Regions from separate parts of the Homo sapiens genome. Here region 1 is linked to region 2. Evidence: promoter capture Hi-C in 16 types of primary human blood cells and fetal thymus (Javierre and others, 2016). All regions are on one chromosome and are shown on one strand. Each heading gives the region's core, a stretch centred on a gene start or on the middle of the fragment in contact. The rest is flanking DNA. Distances are from core to core; before and after follow the strand shown.

Region 1 (3,401 bases), core at 362-2,861, 1.0 Mb before region 2:
CCGGCCCTGTCGGCCACCTCGTTTACCACCTCCAGAGGCACAAATAATTATACCGGAAGAATTTGTTTTAACAAGTAGAATTCTATATTCACCAACTGGCTTCGCTATCGGATATTACGGTAGGGTTCCAACAAGAGAAGGGCAAAAGAATATAGTTTAATTGTTCTAAACAATCTTTCTGAGAAGTTGGGGTGGCTGAGGCGGCCACGGGGATACAGCTCAGGCACCTGTGAGCTAAGCCCACTCTACAAACTAACCACCCCTACGTTTTGGGCAGAAGAGCGCCGCCTCGCCAACCCAGGTTATAAATGTACATATTTTTAAAGATGAGCTTTGACGCTGTGACACTTGTGGGGAGTCTCCCGACGGCTCCTCTACTTGATGGGGGTACAGGGAGTTCTGCGGCTCCCCAGCCCCGAGTTTCAAATACCGTGGCCTGGAAATTAACCGGGTGACTCGGTTTATTGCCTCCAGAAGGGTCCGCCTGCCGTGCTGGAGTAGCCGCCAGTCCCGCGCCCGCAGCCCCGGCAGGGCCCCCCACGCCCACCTTCCCACGAGGGGTGTCTCGTAGAGTCCGGCTTCAGGCGCTCCCTGGCCTGGCAGCACCCACCCCACCCCGCCCCACCCCACCCCCACGACTCGGGCTAGCAGCCTGGTTAATCATTCAACGCAAACAGTGTGGAATATTTTTTTTAAAAGGTCAAAGCGAAAGGTTTTCCCTAAGTTTGGCAGAAACCAGTTTTGGGGGAGCCGGAGACAGAAGTGGCAGAGGTTGGGGGTGGGGGGTGGGGAGCGGCTGCCGGCGGCTCTTTGGCTCACAAAACACCTGATCTCCCCATGCGGCACGGGAGGCCGGCGCAGTGCGAGGGTGGGGTGCGGGGGTGCGAGCGAGGAATCACGCGCGCCCCCCTCCCCGAAATGCCCGCGCGCCCCGGATGAGGAGGCCCGGCCCCAGATGCCCCTTGCCAAAGCCCGCATCGCCCCGGCGCCGGATCCCCCGGAAGTTGGGGTGCAGCGAGGAGGGGGAAGGTCCCCGGGCTCCAGGGCGAGGTGGGCACGGAATGGGTTGGGAGGTTCCAAAGCCCCGCAGCGGGCGGTGTCCCTCTCCTCTCCCTCTGGGCTGAGGTTGGGTGGCTGGGACGGCGGGAAGGTAAGGGAGGCTTAAATGCGGCAGGAGCCACCTAGGGACGGCTTCCTCCACCGGGGCGCGGGTACGAAGCCGGAACCGGCGAGGAACCGGGCGGGGGTAGCAGGGTGTCCGGAAGGTGGGGCCGGGAAGCAGGGAGGCGGAAGGGGACTGGTAGAGGGGCCTGGCGGTGAGAGGGCAGCGGGGAGGGAGCCGGCGGGGGTGCTCGGCGCCCGGGCCCTACCTTGTCCGGGAGCAGCTCCAGCTCGGCGGGGCGGGGGCAAGGGCGGGAGATCGCGGCCACATCCACGTCCCGGCCGCTCCGCGCGGCTCAGCCCGGCGACCGCCGCAGCTCACGCTCCATGCGCGGCGCCCCGGACGGGCGGCCCGGCGGTGTCGGCGGCAGGGACTGCTCCGGCTTGGCTCTGCTAGCCTCCGGCACTTGTTGCCGCTGCTGCCGCTGCCGCTGCGCCTCACTCCAGGCTCCGGTTCCAGGCGCAGCAGCCGCCGCGGGCGCCCGGCCCCGCCCCTCCCCTGCCCGCCCGCCAATGGGGCCCGGCCCCGCCCCTCACGTCACCGCCCGACGGCCCCGCCCCGCGCCCCAAGTTTTGGGAGGGTTCCGCTCTCCCCACCCGGTACCAGGACCCACCCGGGCCCGCGCTCCCTGCGGCTTCCAGGGACCCTCCAGCCCCCACGCACCCTCCTGCAAAGCCGAGGGTTAAGCTGGGGAAAGGGGGCCTCTAGGAAGGCGACCCCCCTGGAAATGCCTGGCAGCTCCAAAAACACTAATGAAACTCAGCTCCAGCCTCCGCCCCTCCAGTTGTGGGTGGCCCCTCTTGCGGTTCGTCTGAGGCTAGGGGACTAGGCGCATCGCCTAGCGAGACTCCAGTGGCCTTTTCTGTCCAGTTTGTAACCGGAACTAGACCGACCCCGGCCGCCCCCTCCAGTGCTGGGGCGGGTGAGGAATGGCCCCGCCGGGGAGGCGGGGGAGGGAGGCCTGGGCCACCCTGGGGTCTGACCTTTGCTCCACCTCTTAGGTGCTCACGACCCAGAGTGGTGCCCTGCTTGGTACTGCCACTGGATCCTCTGGCTTATGAAGCCGTCCAGGACAGGAAGGGTGGGGGGTGGTCCTTAGTTCTCTTCGTGGGGTCATGCAGAGTGGTTTCCTCGAGGTCCCACGCCCGTCTCAGGAAGCCAGAAACGCAAGATGCCGGGCGCTCGGCCCGAACCCGTGCCGCGGCCCAAGGGGCAAGGCGGATACCGAGGCAAGGCCTAAAGGGCCGGACTCTGACCGCACCCTCCGGACACTGCAGGGCTCCGCCGGCCAGAGGCGGCCTTGGCGCCAACCACACCTAGCAGCGGGGTCCCCGGGCCCACCGATGCGCCCTCCTAGCCCCGCGCTCCTTCGAGGGGTTCCAAGGTGACTCAGAGACGCAGCTGACACAATTCTGAGGCCCCCAGGTAAGCCTGGCGATACCGGATGGAGAAGTTACCTGGTCTTGAAAGGCCCAGTCCAGCCAGCGAGACCCGCGTGCGCTCCGCGGGGAGGCAAGCCTAACCAGGGGCTCACCTGGAAGCGTCCCCGCCCCCTGGTCCTTATCTCTGAATCGAAACCGAACCTGGACCCATCTAGATAATTGGACTGAGCAATTAAGGACGCTTCGCTCCTAACTGTTAGCATTTTTTCCTAAGGCTCTCGGAGGCGGAATCAGCTGGAAAGGAACATTGCTAAGTAGGAATTTCAGGCACCTGTGAACTGAGCCCACTCAATAATCGGCCCTTTCCCTTAACCAAACTCAGCAAAGGAAGAAAGACCAAGTTGCTGCGGATGCACAGAGCCACGTGGGTGCGGGTCCTCTAGAAACAGGAATTCAGAGTCAGTAGATATGGAAATGTTATGGTTTGCAGTCTTCGGACCATGCTGCTTTCATGCTGTTCACATGATTCTCCTCGGACTGCGAGGTAAAGTCCAAGAAACAAGTCGAATGTTTGTATTTTCATAGAAAAAACATCTGTAAGGGTGCACACCGACTGTTAACCACGGTTACGCGGGGAGGGGAAACAAGGGAGTTACATTTTTTTACTCCCTTGACTTTGGATTTTGTATTTTTCCAGTTGTATTTACTTTCATAATTTAGAAAGCTAATAAAACATGTTTAAAGAAACAGAAGCTAGAAATTCTCTAAGAACTCTAGGAAGTAGAGGCCGGGCGCGGTGGCTCACGCCTGTAATCCCAGCACTTTGGGAGGCCGAGGCGGGTGGATCACAAGGTCAG
Region 2 (3,404 bases), core at 530-3,029:
AAATGCCCGGCAACTGATAAATGGAGAAACAGAATGCAGTATATGCACCCGTGGAATATTCATCAGCTATAAAAAAGAATAAAGTGCTGCTACCTGACACAACACAGATGACCGTTGAACACATTATGAAGTAAAAGAAGGCAGACACCAAAAAACACATCCTACATGATTCATCTATGTGAAATGTTCAGAGGCCAATCCAGAGAAAACGGGTGAGCAGACACCAGGGACTGGGGAAGAGGAGGGCAACAAGAGTGACTGCTCATGGGTCCAGGGTTTTGTTTTGGGGTGGTGAAATGTTCCTAAATTGATTGTAGTGATGGCTGCACAACTCTGTGACTATACCGAAAACCAATAAATTATACACACTAAATGAGTGAATTATGTCTCAAAAAAGCCGTTTTTAAAAGAAATCCCTACCCTACTGAATGACAGAAAGAGGGAGCAGGACAGTAAGCAAAATAGTTTTGTAAAGCAAGTTTCAGTGCCTTGGGGAAAAATAAAGTAGGGAAGAAAGATGGCACAAGGCAGGAGTCTCCAAGGATGCACAGAGATGGCTTTACTCAGGACAAAGACCTGAAGGAGGCAGGCAGCTACCTGGGGGAAGAGTGCTCCAGGCAGCAATGCCGGGAGACTCCTGTTCACAAGGGCCTGGTAGAAGAGGGCCCAGCTGACAGCAATGAGCTCTAAGCAGCTGCGAGTGCTGCGAGAAGGGAAATCCCCATCCTTCTTGGCCCATGGAACTCAAGTGTGGCCAGAGTGTCAGGATCTACCAACGCTGATTCAGGAGCCAGTCAGTGTGCCAGGCCCATAGCAGGGGCTGTAAAAACATTCGCTGAATGATGAACGCACTTTGTCCCCAGCCCCACTAGTACCCTGAGGCCCCTGTTACCTTTCCAGCCCAGTTTGATGTTCCACTCATAGAAGAAAATCAGCTTTCCTTTGCGGCTGCTGCACGAAGCCTCCCCTTCCACCTGCTTCAACTCGTTGATCTCGCCGCGGCCAGCGTCATTCTCCACAACGATGCCCACCAGGAGCTCCTGGAACTTCCCTTTGGACAAGCTGGTGGCATCCCGCTCTGTCCTGCCAGGGACCAGAAAGTCGTGAATGGAAGCCCCAGCTGGGATCCACCTGCCTGGGTGCCAGGGTCACGTCCAAGCCCAGCCCAGATCGGCCCAAGTCCTCTCAAGCAGCCTCGAAACCTGCCAACCTCCAATGTGCTCCTCAAACCTGCTTTCTATCAAATTCTTTTCATCCTGCTCAGTTCTTTAAGATATTATTGTCCACTATGCAAGTAGTATTCTGTCTTAAAAACACTGGCTTATTTAAGGGAGGAGGATCTAGCTAGCTCGCCCACTGGAAATAGGCAAAGCCTAGGCCACAGGGAAAGTAGCAGTAGTGAACTAATCAGAATCATGACAATACCAGCTATCAAGTGTCTTCGCATATACATCGTCTAATGTAATCTTCCCAGGCAATATTCTCACTTTAGGGGACAGAAACGAGCTGAGAGAAATGACATGTCCATCGGGCCAAGGCTAGGACACTAGAAAGTCAGATCTAGCTCACGCCTGTAATCCCAGCACTTTAGTAGGCCCAGGCGGGCGGATCACGAGATCTGGAGTTCGAGAGCAGCCTGACCAACATGGTGAAACCCTGTCTCTACTAAAAATACAAACATCAGACGGACGTAGTGGCACGCATCTGTAGTCCCAGCTACTCATGAGGCTGAAGCAGGAGACTCGCTTGAACTCTGGAAGCTGAGGTTGCAGCGAGCCAAGATTGCCCATGCCCTCAGAGCTCCTCCGGACCAGCCAAGTCATGCTCCTCTGGGGACCGGCCTCAGCATCCCCTCGACGGCCTGGAGGGACCACAGCCCCGGCCAGAGGCGCAGGGCAGAGGACATCCCTTCCGGAGGTTCTGCGGCGGAGGGCTGCCGACCTCTCCCCACGCGCCAGGTGAGGCGCGTAAAGGAAGGGGAGCTTGTCTCACTCACAGAGGGCCCGGCTCGCGGGAGGCGCCTGCGGGGTGGGCGCGAACTGAGATCCAAATTTCTGCCCTTTCCACTACGTTCCATACCCCCGCCCCTAACACAGTCTCTCAATCCAGCTCCCTTCTAACTCCCCGAAACATCCAGAGGGGTGGGCGGGAGGAGAAGGGAAGGCCCTCAGGCCACAGACGGTGGGAGTGGAAAGGTCTGTCGGAAGTCACTCTTGGGGCCCAACCCAACTTTCAAAAAGAGGCAGCTGCAACCCTCCTAGCCGGTCTCCGTACTCAAGGACTCTCCCGAGCCGAGAGGCGAAGGCCGAGCCCTGCGTCCAGCAGCTGAGGGGGGGCGGCCCCCTGACCCCCTGGCCCCGCGGCCCCGCACAGACCCCAGGGCAGCCCCGGCTCCCGCGGCCCGGCCCTCCCCAGATCCCGGAAGGAGGCCGCCGCCAGCCGCGCCAGCGCCAGTTGTTCACGTTGGTCCCGTCCTCCCGCTCCTCCACGATCCAGTGGGGGTTCCCCTGGCCCCACTTGGCCATGGCGGCGTGGACTGGGCGGAAAACAAGGAAAGGCCGCGGCGCCTAAGGCTCCGAAGCCAGCGTTTCCGGCCGCCGAGCCCCGGGGCGGCGCGTTCGCAGCTCCCAGAAACTGCCAGAAGGCCCCGCCCCCGGCCCCGCCCCGCCCTGCCGCGGCGCGCCCGGGAGCCCCAGCCGGGATCTGGGAGGCGGGTCGCGCGGGGACGCGGGGACGCGGGGACGCGCGGGCGGGGAGGGGCTGGGGCCGCCGGGGTTCCGCTGCGCGTCTCCTAACGCTAGGGCGGGACGGGGCTGTCTGGGCCGCCTGCGAAGGGCGGAGGGCGCTGCAAGTCCCGCGGTGCTGGCGGGCTCGTGATTCCCGGCGCCGGGAAGCAGGGCGCTGAGTAGCGGGTGCCTGAGAGTCCAACCGGCAGTGTAGACGCGACACCGCCGTCAGGTGGCCTCGGCAGGCTCCCTATAGCTCTCGAGGACACGACCTCGAACGCCCAGGTCGCTGTAAGACCGGCCTTTGGGGCCACAGCGCGCACACGTCACACCGTTTGCGGATTTCGCCTAAGAGCGAGTCCGCGCCCAGTTGCCGCGCTGCGGTTTTTTCCGCGACGCAGTCTCTCGCCCTCCCCCCTTCCCGGCACCTTTCCAACTAGTCCCATGTTACTGCGGGAGTATTTCCATTTTATTCACGTAATAATCCTTTAGAGAGAACGAAAGAATGTGATTGCAAACGCATGTTACTGCAAACTGATGCACTTTATCATGGAGTATTAATGATTCCTTTCACGAATTTTCGGCTTCTAGCTAAAACTTTGCACGAACTATTTGGACAATGTTACTGGGGTGTTCTCTGCTAACTACATGGGTAGTTAGCACAGAAATGGGTAGAAC

Evidence for each region. Contacts are between HindIII fragments. The CHiCAGO score rates a contact against its expected background, and 5 or more counts as called.
Region 1: the fragment with the promoter of B3GNT2 here is called in contact with the fragment with the promoter of C2orf74-AS1 in region 2 in 1 of 17 cell types (neutrophils); the score reaches 6.0 in neutrophils.

Annotation. Positions count from the first base shown.
Region 1 is chr2:62,194,325-62,197,725 of GRCh38, reverse strand. It overlaps B3GNT2 (UDP-GlcNAc:betaGal beta-1,3-N-acetylglucosaminyltransferase 2), which reads right to left and starts at 1,611. Exons shown (of 2, transcript NM_006577.6): 1 at 1,371-1,611. It overlaps LOC124906013 (a long non-coding RNA gene), which reads left to right and starts at 1,713. Exons shown (of 2, transcript XR_007086336.1): 1 at 1,713-2,587; 2 at 2,819-3,401. RefSeq lists enhancers at 216-325, 1,306-1,912, 2,519-3,126 and silencers at 736-1,085, 1,266-1,705, 1,996-2,225. The HindIII fragment of the contact is 10,818 bases long and covers 1-3,401 here.
Region 2 is chr2:61,176,660-61,180,063 of GRCh38, reverse strand. C2orf74-AS1 (C2orf74 antisense RNA 1) reads left to right here and starts at 1,779. Exons shown (of 2, transcript NR_183879.1): 1 at 1,779-1,958. It also overlaps the pseudogene AHSA2P. RefSeq lists a silencer at 2,324-2,873. The HindIII fragment of the contact is 7,287 bases long and covers 1-3,404 here.